2 separate regions of the Homo sapiens genome follow, and region 2 is linked to region 1. The links are contacts of gene promoters, found by promoter capture Hi-C in blood cells and fetal thymus (Javierre and others, 2016). All regions are on one chromosome and are shown on one strand. The core of a region is centred on a gene start or on the middle of the fragment in contact, and the rest is flanking DNA. Distances in the headings are between cores, read along the strand shown. Region 1 holds the start of YPEL1 (yippee like 1). Region 2 holds the start of MAPK1 (mitogen-activated protein kinase 1).

What was found. Contacts are between HindIII fragments. The CHiCAGO score rates a contact against its expected background, and 5 or more counts as called.
Region 2: a contact is called between the fragment with the promoter of MAPK1 here and the fragment with the promoter of YPEL1 in region 1, in 4 of 17 cell types (neutrophils, endothelial precursors, M2 macrophages and 1 more). The highest score is 9.6, in neutrophils.

The regions. Positions count from the first base shown.
Region 1 is chr22:21,731,135-21,738,393 of GRCh38, reverse strand. YPEL1 (yippee like 1) reads left to right here and starts at 2,600. Exons shown (of 5, transcript NM_013313.5): 1 at 2,600-2,779. RefSeq lists silencers at 2,032-2,881, 2,902-2,951. The HindIII fragment of the contact is 25,539 bases long and covers 1-3,192 here.
Region 2 is chr22:21,866,395-21,873,653 of GRCh38, reverse strand. MAPK1 (mitogen-activated protein kinase 1) reads left to right here and starts at 6,009. Exons shown (of 9, transcript NM_002745.5): 1 at 6,009-6,332. The coding sequence starts at 6,214. RefSeq lists a silencer at 5,839-6,078. The HindIII fragment of the contact is 41,836 bases long and covers 1-7,259 here.

The DNA of each region.
Region 1 (7,259 bases), core at 1,351-3,850:
GTTGTACAGCCATTCCCACTACCAATTCCAAATTTTTTTATCACCCCAAACAGAAACGTTGTACAGATAAAATGAAATAGGTCATGTGGTCACGTGGTCATAGTTAACAACACTTGACGCCACCAAGTCCGCGGAAAGATGCTCAACACCACTAATCACGAGGCAAGTGCAAACCAAACCCATCATGCACCAGGCTGGCCACTGTCAAAAAACAGAAAATAACAGTTGGTGAAGATGTGCAGAAACTGGAAGCCTTGTACACTGTTGGAGAGAATGTGAAATGGTGCAGTTACGTTGGGAAACAGTATGTAATCGCCTTAAAAAATTCAACATAGAACTACCATATGATCCAGCAACTTCACTTCTGGGTATATACCCAAAATAATTGGAACCAGGGGTGCCAAGGGATGTTTGTACCATCAAGTTCATAGTGGCATTATTTACAATAGCTAAAGTATGGAAGCAGCAAGCCAGGTGTCCACTGACAGATGCGTGGAGAAACAAAATGTGGTATCTACATACAATGGAATATCATTCAGCCTAAAAAAAGGAAGGAAACTGTGACAGTGCTACACCATCGGTGAACCTTGCAGACATTATGCTAAGTGAAATGAGCCACAAAAGTCACAGTAAGCCACAAAAAGACAAATACTAGATGATTTCACTTATGTGAGGCACCTAGAGCAGTCAAGCTCATAGGGACAGAAAGTAGAATGGGGTGGTGCGGGGCATGGGGTAGAAGGAAACGGGAGTCATTGTTTCTTGAGTCCAGAGCTTTACTTAGGCAAGATGAGTTCTGGAGAGGGATGATGATGATGGTTGCACAACATTATGAATGTATTTAATACCAGTGAACTGTACACTTTAAAATAGTTAAATGGGGCCGGGCGCGTGGGCTCATGCCTGTAATCCCAGCACTTTGGGAGGCCGAGGCAGGCGGATCACTTGAGGTCAGGAATTCGAGACCAGCCTGGCCAATATGGTGAAACCCCGTCTCTACTAAAAATACAAAAATTAGCCGGGCCTAGTGGCGGGCAACTGTAGTCTCAGCTACTGGGGAGGCTGAGGCAGGAGAATCGCTTGAGCCCAGGAGGAGGAGGTTGCAGTGAGCCAAGCTCACACCACTGCACTCCAGCCTGGGCGACACAGCGAGACTCCTGTCTCAAGGAAAAAAAAAAAAAAAAAAAAAAAGGCAACATCCAGCCACAATCTAAGTTATGAGTCAGGTGTACATTTAGCGACTTGAAGAGATCTTTACATACACAGTGGGTTGCAGAAAACAAGAGAATACGTCCAGAGGACGCTGATAACAATGTTATATACATTGTGACCTCAATAGAGGTTTTGTTGTTTTCTTGGTTTTTTTCTTTTCTTTTTTTTTTTTTTTGTTCAAGAGGAAGGGTCTCGCTCTGTCACCCAGTCTGGAGTGCAGTAGCGCGATCATGGCTCACTGAGGCCTCGACCTCCTGGGCTCAAGTGATCCTCCCGCCTCAGCCTCACAGGTAGCTGGGACTACAGGTGTGCACCACCATGCCTAATTTCTTTCTTTTTTTTTTTTTGGTACAGTGTCTCACTATGTTGCCCAGGCTGCTCTTGAACTCCTGGGCTCAAATGATCCTCCTGCCTCGGCCTCCCAAAGTACTGGAATTACAGGCGTGAGCCACCACACCCAGCCTTCAAATATATATATTCAAATAATACATATCTATTTTCAAATAATATATATTTTTTTAAAGAAGGGATACGGAACCAAGAAAACAGTGACATTAGAGGCGTGGGGGTGGCGCAGGCTGCCGGGGCGTCGGGAGCACTACCCAGAGGAAGGGGCTTTCTGTAGGGTCTGACGCGGCAGTCCTGGAGCAGAGCGAGGGGCCAGACGCAGACCCGGGGGGTCCTCCGTGGCGAGGGGGTCCTAGGGGGTTAGGTCCTTGGGTTCAGAGAGGGTGGTGGGGACGGGACAGCACGGACGACCGCATTCTGGGGACCCGGCCGCGGAGGGGTCCGGCCAAGGCGGGCCCTGGTCAGGCGCACACAAGCTCGCCTCGGCCTCCACGTCCGTCCCCTACAACGCGGCCGACCGCGCGGACGGGCGGTACGTGCACGGCGCTGGACGAGGAGGCTGCGCGCAAGCTCGCCTCAGCCTCTGGAGCTGCGGGCCCTGCACGCCCTCGGCCCATCCCCGCGAGCCGGAGGAACGAGTGACCACCACCGCCAGCCCCGCCGGCCGAGTGTCCCTGCCCAGCCAGCCTGCGTCCGAGCGCGGCGCTCCTCGCGGAACCCGCCCCTGCTCTCGCCCCGCCCCGCGCGGCCCCGCCCCCGTGTCCCTCGGCCCTTACAGGCTGGCTCCGAGGCCGCGCCCGGCGGGTCAGCCAATGGGAGTGCGGCGCGCCCCGCGGCACGTGGGCTCCTGCCCGTCCCGGCCGGGTGCGAGCTGGCGGAGCTCCTTGGCCCGGAGCGCGCGGGGCGGGGGCGCGCGGGGCAGGCGGGACGCGGGGCGGAACGGAGGCAGGATGGGGGCGGGGCGCTGGCGACATGGCGCGCTGATTGGCCGGCGCCGCGCTCCAAGGCTGTTAACGGCGTCTGGGCCGGGCTACGGCTCCAAAACAAAGGGCAGGCGGCCCGCGGGGCGGCGGCGGGAGGATGCCTCGCGCCCTGCCTAGGCGTTAACGGCCTCAGCGCGTCCCGGGCCGCGCCGGGAACGCCTGAGAGCCGAGCCCGCGCTGACCGGGGCCCGGGCCGGATGGGCGCTGCGGGCCGGGGCGCGGACCGCGGAGCGGCCGTGAGTACGGGCGGGCCTGGCTGCAGCTGCGCGGGCGGTTACTTTGTGGCCACCCAAGGATACTGTGGCTGCGGGCGGGCCCGGGAAGCACCTGTTGGGCGTCCGGGCGGGCGGGGGCGCGAGCAGGGCGGGCCTGTGACTTTTTTGTTCCGTTTTGGATTTTGATTTGTTGATATTGGGCTCACTCCGTTTTGGCACAGACAACAACGCCTAATCTTTGATTCCCCCGCCGTTTCTTCTCTCCACCTCCCCCGCTGTCCCTCTTCTCCCGCCCCGCCGTGAAAAGATAGGGAAAATGGACAAGATCCCTGATTTTTGGATTTTCCTTCCTTAAAAAATACAGCCTCAACTGGGCAAGGAAATGAGGGCAAAAGAGGTCTCCTAGGAATGTTTATCAGAAAGGCGGAAAAGCTTTTCAAGTAGCCACATAAAGATCATGACTAAAATGGAGCGTCCTCGGTATTTACCACTTGTGGCATAGGTTTCGTTAACAGAGATTGCAAAAGCCTGAGCTTCAGAGATCTAAACAGGGTCCGCCTCCCCCATGCTTGGCTCTGATTGACATCTTTGATGTCCAAATTATGTGCTGAATTCTAAGGATGGAAAAAAGGCTGAGATTCTATTTTAGGCAGATAATGAACATGGAAGACATCAATTTCCCCGCCCCACGCTTTTTCTGTTCCGTTGCATTTCTTCTTCCTCTATCTAAAACATACCCACCTTAACCTGATGTTTCCTTTGCTAAGAATGTTATTCTTCCCACCCACCAGCCCCTGACACTCCTAATTCCCTACTCAGGTCCCAAGACTAGGTTTACCACCACTGGGGAGACTTTCCAGGCACCTCACCTGAGCAAGCTATAGATGTGACAAATGTTTGCTGAGCCCCTGCCAGGTGCCAGGAGCTGTGCTTAATCCTGATGTCATTTTGTCTTACAATCATGCACTGGTCCCCCTCAGGGCTCTTGCGAGGCAATGGTAGTGGCATGTTTGAGGAATAAGAGGATCTCCAGGACCTTCATGGTGTTTCCTCTTGGGCCCTACAGGGTAGAGTCTCATCTACTTGTGGGAACCCCTACGGGTTGGGCCCATATTGAGCATTTATATAATAACTGAGCGCTCTTAATTACCAATCTGAGCAATAGTCTTCTTTTAAAATAACTTCTTATTTTGGAAAAACTTTAAATTTACATAAAGGTTGCAAAGATAGTACAGACAATCCCAATATATCCTACACCCAGTGCTCCCTATCCTTACCCCATCCTACACTGCTGTGGTACACTTGCCAATATGAAAAACACCTGGGTGCATTCTTGTCACTAAACTGTGGGTATTAAGCCTTTTCACCTTTGAATCACTGTAATTTATAAAGCCATTTCTCTGTTTGTTTCTTTGTTTGAGACAGGGTCTCACTCTTGCTCAGGATGGAGTGCAGTGGCACAAACACGACTCACTGCAACCTCCACATCCTGAGCCCAAGTGATCCTCTTGCCTCAGCCTCCCATGTAGCTAGGACTACAGGTGCACACCACCATGACTGGTTAACTTTACATTTTTTTTTGTAGAGACTGGGGTCTCACTTAATGTTTCCCAGGCTGGTCTTGAACTCCTAGGCTCAAGTGATCCACCTGCCTCAGCCTCCTGAAGTGTTGGGATTACAGGCTTGAGCTGCTATACCTCACCATAAAGCTATTTTCTTTAGGTTGAGAGCAGTGTTCCTCTAACATCTGTTCTTGATTCTTGCCTGTCTTCACTAAGTTCCACCAGCACCTGTGTCAAGGGGCAGGGATGCAGGAAAAGGGAAAGAGGCTACCCTATAGGTTTTTTCCTTTTTTCTTTCTTTTTTTGTTGGTTTGTTTTGGTTTGTTTATTTCAACAAACAAATTGGTTTTTTGAGACAAGGTCTCATTCTGTCACCCAGGCTGGAGTATAATGGCACTGTCTCCACTCACTGCAGCCTCAACCTCCTAGGTTCAAGCCATCCACCTGCCTTCTGAGTAGCTGGAAACACAGGCACACACCACCATACCCAGCTAATTTTTTGATTTTTCTGTAGAGACAGGATCTCACTCTGTTGCTGGTCTCAAACTCCTGAGCTGAAGCGATCCTCCCCCCTTGCCTCCCAAAGTGCTGAGATTATAGGTGTGAGCCACCACCCCCAGTTAGTTTTGTTTTGTTACTTTATTTGTTTATTTTTTGAGACAGAGTCTCGCTCTGTCTCACCCAGGCTGGAGTGCAGTGGCATGATCTCGGCTCACTGCAGCCTCCACCTCCAGGGTTAAGCGATTCTCCTGTCTCAGCCTCCCGAGTAGCTGGGATTACAGGCATGTGCCACCACACCCAGCTAATTTTGTATTTTTAGTAGAGACAGGGTTTCACCATGTTGCCCAGGCTGGTCTCAAACTCTTGACCTCAGATGATCTGCCACCCCTCAGCCTCCCAAAGTGGTGGGATTACAGGTGTAAGCCACAGTGCCCAGCCTTGTTTTGTTATATTAGAGAGACAGAGTCTTGCTTTGTCACTCAAGCCTGGGGTACAGTGGCACAATCATAGCTCACTGCAGCCTCAACCTCTTGGGCTCAAGCAATCCTACAGCCTCAGCCTTCTGAGTAGCTGGGACTGTGGGTGTGCACCACCATGCCCAGCTATATAAAAAAAAAATTTTTTTTGGTAGATATGAGGTTTGGGGTTCTCACTGTGTTGCCCAGGTTGATCTCAAACTCCTGGCCTCAAGTGATCCTCCAGTCTCAGCCTCCCGATGTGTTGGGATTTACAGGTGTGAGCCCAGCCTACCTTGCAGTTTGTTTGTTTGTTTTTGTTGTTGTTGTTATTTTTGAGACAGAGTCCCACTCTGTCGCCAGGCTGGAGTGCAGTGGCGTGATCTCGGCTCAGTGCAGCCTCCGCCTCCCGGGTTCAAGCGATTCTCCTGTCTCAGCCTCCTGAGTAGCTGGGACTACAGGCACCCGCCACAACAGCCAGCTAATTTTTGTATTTTTAATAGAGACGGGGTTTCACCAGGTTGGCCAGGATGGCCTCAATCTCCTGACCTCAAGTGATCCGCCTGCCTCGGCCTCCCAAAGTGCTGGGATTACAGGCGTGAGCCACCGCGCCTGGCCAACCCTGTAGTTTTAACATATTTGTCTCCATGGAAGACTAATAAACAAAATTGTTTTGAATATGAAGAAGCAATAGAAGCCCCCCTGCTTTCAAACTGTTCTGTGATGCTTTTCATTAGAGTTAAATGAAGTTGACGTAAATGTTTTTAAGTAGTTAGATCTAATAATCAGTGAAAGCTCTAGGGAGTGGGAATTTTGACAAGAGATTTGAGCGGAGGTTGAAGAAAGTTCTCAATAGCCAAGACATAGAGGGCTAAGGGTTTTTGGAGCAAGCAGTGCGAGATAGATTCAGGAAAGAAGTCAAGAGGGTGAAATCGATTCCGCCAGCAAATGCCAGGACGTTACACCTGCTATACAGATGCTGAGTACCAAAAACCTGTTGGCAGGTGAGAGTAAAATGGAAATCCTGGAGCCAACCACTGTTGCCCACACCCCAGAAAGGGGTTAGGAGCCGTTATTCACCCCATTGCTCAGTAGGCCCTCTGGCACCTGCAGGGCCTTGGGCCGGGGCCGGGATTCCTGGTGGGGCTTGTGAGGTGCTTGCTGAGCCCCTGCCGTCCTGTAACAGTGACACATGCTCCTGCCGTAAGGCCCTGGTCAGACACCTAAACTGTGCCCAAGGATCATCCCCCTTAACATCTCATGTGACTCTGACTGCCCTGTAAATTGCACGTTACCCCACTTTACAAAGAAGGTAGCAGAACTTGGCTTCAGGTCCCAGAGCCAACAAACACGTGGCACATTTTGCATCAAAGCCTGGGAAGCCTCTCAAAGCAAGTCAGACCCTCTTTCACCTTTGTCCTGGGGGTGATGACATCCCTGTTGCCAAACCTCACCTACTCCCTCCCTCGTGGTGCCACCTGCCTTCTCAGCAGCATTGGCATATACCCCCGCCACCCAAACGCTTCCCCCTCACCTTTTCTGGTTCCTCTTTGTGTATCTGTTTTTTTTTTTTTTTTTCCCCCCTTCTCTTGCCCCAAGACAGGGCCTTTAATGTCTGATGAGACTTTATTTAGCATGAGGGTAAATAAAGTAGTTTTTAAGATTCTCAACCTCTTTTCTTCTATCTCAATCCAGTCTTCTGGGTGTGGTACCCACTCTTTCAACCTAACAAGGCTAGTGTTGCACATAGTTCCTACACCTCCCCTTTTCTTTCTTTTTTTTTTTTGACACAGGGTCTCACTCTGTCATCCAGGCTGGAGTGCAGTGGCGATCACCTCAGCCTCCCGAGTAGCTGGGACGACAGGCACGTGCCACCACACCTGGTTAATTTTTAAATTTTTTTTTAGAGACGGGTTTTCGCCATGTTGCCCAGGCTGGTCTCGAACTCCTGACCTCAGATGATCCTCCCACCTTGGCCTCTTA
Region 2 (7,259 bases), core at 4,760-7,259, 130 kb before region 1:
TGGCACGATCTTGGCTCATTGCAACCTCCGCCCCTCCTGGGTTCAATCAATTCTTGTGCCTCAGCCTCCTAAGTAGCTGGGATTACAGGGGTCTGCCACCATGCCTGACTAATTTTTGTATTTGTATTTTTTTTTTTTTTGAGGAGTCTCGCTCTGTCACCCAGGCTGGACTGCAGTGGCACTATCTCGGCTCACTGCAAGCTCCACCTCCCAGGTTCACGCCATTCTCCTGCCTCAGCCTCCCTAGTAGCTGGGACTACAGGCGCCCGCCACCACGCCCAGCTAATTTTTTGTATTTTTAGCAGAGACGGGGTTTCACCGTGTTAGCCGGGATGGTCTTGATCTCCTAACCTCGTGATCCGCCCGTCTCGGTCTCCCGAAGTGCTGGGATTACAGGTGTATTTGTATTTTTTTTTTTTGAGATGGAGTTTTGCTCTTGTCACCCAGGCTGGGGTGCAATGGCATGATCTTGGCTCACCGCAACCTCCGCCTCTCAGGTTCAAGTGATTCTCCTGCCTCAGCCTCCTGAGTAGCTGGAATTACAGGTGCATGCCACCACCATACCCAGCTAATTTTTGTATTTTTAGTACAGGCAGGGTTTCAACATGTTGGCCAGGCTGGTCTTGAACTCCTGACCTCAAGCGATCCACGCCACCTCGGCCTCCCAAAGTGCTGGGATTATAGATGTGAGCCACCACACCCGGCCACACCTGGCTAGTTGTAAAATTTTATGTAGAGATGGGGTCTCCCTATGTTGCCCAGTCTCAAACTCCTGAGCTCAAACAATCCTCCTGCCTCAGCCTCCCAAAGTGCTGGGATTACACACATGAGCTACCACACCTGGCCTGGAGATCAGACTTTAGGTAGTAAAGATTTCTGAACTATTAAAGAAACAGAATTTATAGTTCATAATTGATTGGATGGGGTACAGGGTAAGGCTTGAGGTAAAATGTGTTGTTAAAGATTATAGTGAACTCTCCAACTTAAGTGTCTGGGTGAAGGTGATGCTATCCACAGATACAAGATAAACAACAGGTTTAGGTGAGGTAGGTAACAGATAACATTTAGTGGGTACATAACATAATATGTGTCAGGCTCTTCACATATGTTGTCTTATGTACTCTGTCCAACAGACTTATGTGAGGTAGGCATTATTGTGATCCCATTTTAAGTCTGAGGAAAATGAGGACAAGGTCACACAGCTGGTAAGCAGAGCAGCCAAGATTCAAACAGTCTCAGCACAGAACTCATGCAGTTAACCAATGGTGGTTTAAATTTGTGGCACTGAAACACCTGTGGGATGTCACATGGAGCTGTCCTGTGTGCAGGTGGACATGCTGACCTGGAATTCAGGAGAGATCTTCTGAGCAATAAAGATCCAGGAAATGAGGGGCACGGTGGCTCACACCTGTATTCTTAGCACTTTGGGAGGCCGAGGTGGGCAGATCACGAGGTCAGGAGTTTGAGACCAGCCTGGCCAATATGGTGAAACCCCGCCTCTACTAAAAGTACAAAAAATAAATTAGCTGGGCGTGGTGGTGCATGCCTGTAATCCCAGCTACTCGGGAGGCTGAGGCAGAAAAATTGCTTGAACCTGGGAGGTGGAGGTTGCCGTGAGCCGAGATCACCCTACCACACTCCAGCCTGGGCAACAGAGTGAGACTCTGTCTCAAAAAAAAAAAAAAAAGATCTGGGAGGAAGGAGGTGCATACCAATAGTCCCAGTTACTTGGGAGGCTGAAGTAGGAGAATGGTTTGAGGCCAGGAGTTCAAAACCAGCCTGGGCAACAAGTGAGACCCCGTCTCTCTCTATTTTTTTTTTTTTTTTGAGATGGAGTCTCACTCTGTTACTCAGGCTAGAGTGCAGTGGTGTGATCTCTGCTCACTGCAACCTCCACCTCCTGAGTTCAAGAGACCTTCCCGCCTCAGCCTCCCAAGTAGCTGGGATTACAGGTATGAGCCACCATGCCTAACTAATTTTTCTGTATTTTTAGTAGAGACAGGGTTTTGTCATGTTGGCCAGGCTTATCTCAAACTCCTGACCTCAGGTGATCCGCCCACCTCGGCCTCCCAAAGTGCTGAATTATGGGCGTGGGCCACCGCGCCTGGCCCCCGTCTCCTTTTATATATAATTTTCCAAAAAAAAAAAAAAAAAAAAAAGATCTAGGAGGAATTAAGGCACTGGAGTGAATGAAATCATCTATGAAGGGTCAAAATCTACCCCTTCAAAGTGTTGTCAATCTTGTTCTATTTTCCTTTGTCTTTTAAGTGTTGCAGAGGAGAAATCTGAAGAAAGCCAGTTTTTAGCTTTTTTTTTGAGATGGAGTCTCGTTCTTGCCACCATCTATGAATCTATGAAGGGTCGAAACCTACCCCTTCAAAGTGTTGTCAATCTTGTTCTATTTTCCTTTGGCTTTTAAGTGTTGCAGAGGAAAAATCTGAATAAAGCCAGTTTTTAGCTTTTTTTTTTTTTAAATGGAGTCTCGTTCTTATCACCCAGACTGGAGTGCAATGGTGCAATCTCGGCTCACTGCAACCTATGCCTTCCGGGTTCAAGCGATTCTCCTGCCTTAGCCTCCCAAGTAGCTAGGATTACAGGTGCCAGCCATCATGCTCGGCTAATTTTTGTATTTTCAGTAGAGACAAGGTTTTACCACGTTGGCCAGGCTGGTCTCGAACTCCTGACCTCAGGTGATCCACCCGCCTCAGCCTCCCAAAGTGCTGGGATTACAGGTGTGAGCCACCTCGCCCAGCCATCTTTTTTTCCCCCGGAGACGGAATCTCACTCTGTTGCCCAGACTGGAGTGCAGTGGCACGATCTCGGCTCACTGCAACCTCCACCTCCTGGATTCAAGCAATTCTCCTGCCTCAGCCTCCCAAGAAGCTGGAATTACAGGCACACACCACCACACCCAGCTAATTTTTGTATTTTTAGAAGAGATGGGGTTTCGCCATGTTGGCCAGGCTGGTCTAGAACTCCTGACCTCATGATCCGCCCGCCTCGGCCTCCCAAAGTGCTGGGATTACAGGCACGAGCCACCGTGCCTGCTGGCCAGCTTTTTTATAAATAACATTTTTTTCCCTAATTGGGTCTATTAGTGTCTGTTCTTTATCCCTGAAACTTAATGATTTTCCCAGATTATGTGTTGTTGGTTTCTTCTTAATTTTTCTCAATCTCAGTGAACCCACTCTATTTCCCACCTCCACCTCAGACCTTTTTGCAACCTAAGGAAACTTTTCTCCTATTGTAATTTTGATTATTCGCTCTAACCGATTTGCTCTGTCTTCCTGTGGGGATGCCTAGAGTTAGAATCCCTAGATGCTGTCCATCCCCATTATCTTCTCTTACAGGATTCCATCACTTTGTTCTATATTCTTGAAAATTTTCTCATGTTTATCTTCTATATTGCTGATGTACTCTTCTGCATCAAGTCTACTTTTTTTTTTTTTTTTTTTGAGACGGAGTCTTGCTCTGTCACCCAGGTTGGAGTGCAGTGGCGTGACCTCGGCTCACTGCAAGCTCCGCCTCCCGGGTTGACGCCATTCTCCTGTCTCAGCCTCCGGAGTAGGTGGGACTACAGGCACTCGCCACCACGCCCGGCTAATTTTTTTTTTTTTTTTTTTTGTATTTTTAGTAGAGACGAGGTTTCACCATGTTAGCCAGGATGGTCTCGATCTCCTGACCTTGTGATCCGCCCATCTCGGCCTCCCAAAGTGCTGGGATTACAAGCGTGAGCCACCGCACCCGGCCTCTTTTTTTTTTTTTTTTTTGAGACGGAGTCTCACTCTGTGGCCCAGGCTGGAGTGCAGTGGCGCGATCTCAGCTCACTGTAACCTCTGCCTCCCGAGTTCAAGCAATTCTCCTGCCTCAGCCTCCCGAGTAGCTGGGACTACAGGCACACCGGCAGGCCCAGCTAATTTTTTGTATCTTAGTAGAGACGGGGTTTCACCATGTTGCCCAGGCTGGTCCCCAGTTTCTGAGCTTGGGCAATCTGCCCTCCTCCGCCTCCCAAAGTGCTGGGATTACAGGCGTGAGCCACCGCGCCCGGCCGGTTATTGTGGTTTTAATTTCATGGTACTCCATTTATCTTGGCCTGTTTTTTAAAAAAATATGCAATGTCCTCTTTTGAGAATAAGAATTAGGTATTTTCTTTTTATTATTATTATTATACTTTAAGTTTTAGGGTACATGTGCACAATGTGCTGGTTAGTTACATATGTATACATGTGCCATGCTGGTGTGCTGCACCCATTAACTCAAGAATTAGGTATTTTCTAAAATTGGGTCCTGCTTCATGGGCTAAATATATTTTGAAGGAGTAAATTTTGGCTGGAGCAGTTTATTCCTTTTCTCATGTGTCACATCCTTTTTCCCCCACAGGATTTTTTGTTTGTTTGTTTCTCTGTTTTAGAGACAGGGTATTGCTGTGTTGCCCAGGCTAGTCTTGAATTCTTGGGCCCAAGTTGGGATTACAGGCGTGAGCCACCACACCAGCTTCCACCAGAGAGTTAAACAAACAAACAAACAAAAAACTTTGTTTATTCTCCTTTGAGATTGACTAATTAATCTTTGTTGATGTCTAGAAGTCAAGAGTTGATGGTTTTAAACTTGGAAGAGTTGAACAAAGAGGATATAGGGTCTGCCGCTCTTCCTTCTCCCTCCAAACATGGCAGGGGAAAAGGTTCAGAAGCAGTGCCTGGGTCATTGTCCGTCTCGTTGTCTTAGCTTTCCTTGGTATCCACCTGCTTCAGGACTCTAATTTTTATTTTTTCAACCTCTGTTGTTTGTGACTGTTTCTTAACCTGGTGTGTCTCTTTTTCTCTAAACCTCGATGTTTTGGTTTTAGTGACTCTATCTTTGCATTTCTATTTCATTACCTGCTCTGTCAGCATTTCTGCCTATCTGTACCAATCTCGGTCTGTCTCTGAACGCAAATGTATCTCTCATGTGTTTCGACCCACCACCCCCTAATCCCTTACTCTCTGCTTTGTCCTCCTGCCTCAGCCTCCCAAGTAGCTGGGATGACAGGCGCCCACCACTGCGCCCGGCTAATTTTTGTATTTTTAGTAGAGACAGGGTTTCGCCATGTTGGCCAGGCTGGTCTTGAACTCCTGACCTCGTGATCCGCCCGCCTCGGCCTCCCAAAGTGCTAGGATTACAGGCGTGAGCCACCTCGCCCGGACTTAATTTTTGTATTTTTAGTAGAGACCTGGTCTCAAACTCCTGACCTCAAGTGATCCGCCCGCCTCGGCCTCCCAAAGTGCTGGGATGATAGGCGTGAGACACCGCGCCCTCCCTTCTGCTTTGTACTTCTTCATCGTACTTATCACAACTTGAGCATTACACGTATTTGTCTGTCTCCTCTCTCTAAAAGGTAACTTCTATAAGGGTGGATCCCCAGGAACATGGAGTGTGCTCAACAAACATCTGAACTAACCTGATTGGCGTATCCTCTCAGTGTCTCCTTTTAGTCTCGACAATTGTGTTTCACACTTTCTCAGTATGCAAATATCTTTCTCGGTCTGGGTCATGCCTTTCGGTTTCTGCCCCAGTGCAGAGGCCTCTAAGTTTATCAGCGTGTGGACCACAGATTCGCAGAGGCCTGAGCTGCGGCGCTGCCGGGATATGGCGCGTCGTCGGGCCTCAAGCACAGCCCGGGGTCCCTCGCTGGCTCTGTTCGGACCCTGCTCGGTCGCTCGCCTGGGCCCCAGCCATCTCTCACTTCAGCCCATGAGTTCTGCCCCACGTCTGTCTCCCTGGGTGTCTTAAGAGACGCGACCCGCACCGACGCCCCCGCGAATGCACCGCGAATGCACGTGACCGCGCCTAGTGGCGCCCCCTCAGTCAACGCCGTCGCAGTGCCCCTCCCGAAGCCCGCCGCTTCCGCCGGCCCGCGCGGCCCCGCCCCCAGCCGCGAGGAACCAATCCGCATGCACACTTCTTGTCCCCGCCCCGGCACCCTCCTCGGCGCGCGCCCCTCCCTCCGCCCGCCCGCCGGCCCGCCCGTCAGTCTGGCAGGCAGGCAGGCAATCGGTCCGAGTGGCTGTCGGCTCTTCAGCTCTCCCGCTCGGCGTCTTCCTTCCTCCTCCCGGTCAGCGTCGGCGGCTGCACCGGCGGCGGCGCAGTCCCTGCGGGAGGGGCGACAAGAGCTGAGCGGCGGCCGCCGAGCGTCGAGCTCAGCGCGGCGGAGGCGGCGGCGGCCCGGCAGCCAACATGGCGGCGGCGGCGGCGGCGGGCGCGGGCCCGGAGATGGTCCGCGGGCAGGTGTTCGACGTGGGGCCGCGCTACACCAACCTCTCGTACATCGGCGAGGGCGCCTACGGCATGGTGTGGTGAGTGTCCGCGACCGGCCACGCCCGGCCCCCCCACCGCCCGGGGCCGCAGCGGACGCAGCCTCGGCCTCGCCCGCGCCTCGGCCTCAGGCGCCGCGGCGACCTCGAACCCGGACTTCACCGCGGTCCGCGCGCCAGGGCTCGGGCGCGGCCCCGGGCCGGTTGAGGTTTAGGTGTTGTTGCTCGCGGTTCCCGGGCCTTCGGTCGCTCGGGAAGGGGCTCAGGGAGTGGCGCGGGGGGCGTAGGCCGGTACTAGTGGACCCTTGGCCCCGGGCGCAGCGCGGCCTTTAAAGTCTGGACCCTCGGGAAGGCAACGGAAGGGTCCCCACCCCTCAATTTGCTAGTATCATGGCCTTCTTTTGGACTTTCGATTGTAAAACTGTGAATTCCATCAGATGCTTGTCGGTGTTGGCGGCGGTGGCTGCTGAGGTCCTGAAAGCGTTTTGCCTCCGCGTGTGTGCAGAACACCGAAATAATCGTTTTTCTCTCTTCGCCTCTGTTTGCAGCCAACGGCTTTCATTAAATATCCTCAGCGGTGCTAATGGTGGTCTCCGCGCAGGCTTTCTAAAATGGATTACTGACGCCAGTGTTGGTGGCATATTTCCGTCTTGAAGTTTTTACTTCTAAGTGGATTTTAATATCGTACTGCTGGCGTTTCAGGAAGGATAAACTAACATTACTCTCTTGATTTGTTAAAGATCCGTTTAGAGTTGGGCCTAATTTGACTTTTTTTTTAGCCCCCAAGTGAGCTCTTTTACCAGCATAAATGCTCCCAGATGTTTTAGCCCAATTGCTATGGACTCCTGTTAATGATTTAGTGGTCATTATGTATGCAGCCTTAATGGAGTTCTTGCAGAATCACACGTAGACTCCCTCATCTTGATTCAGGTCCCTTAGAAAAGTGAAATGATAGTGACGGTTTTTTTT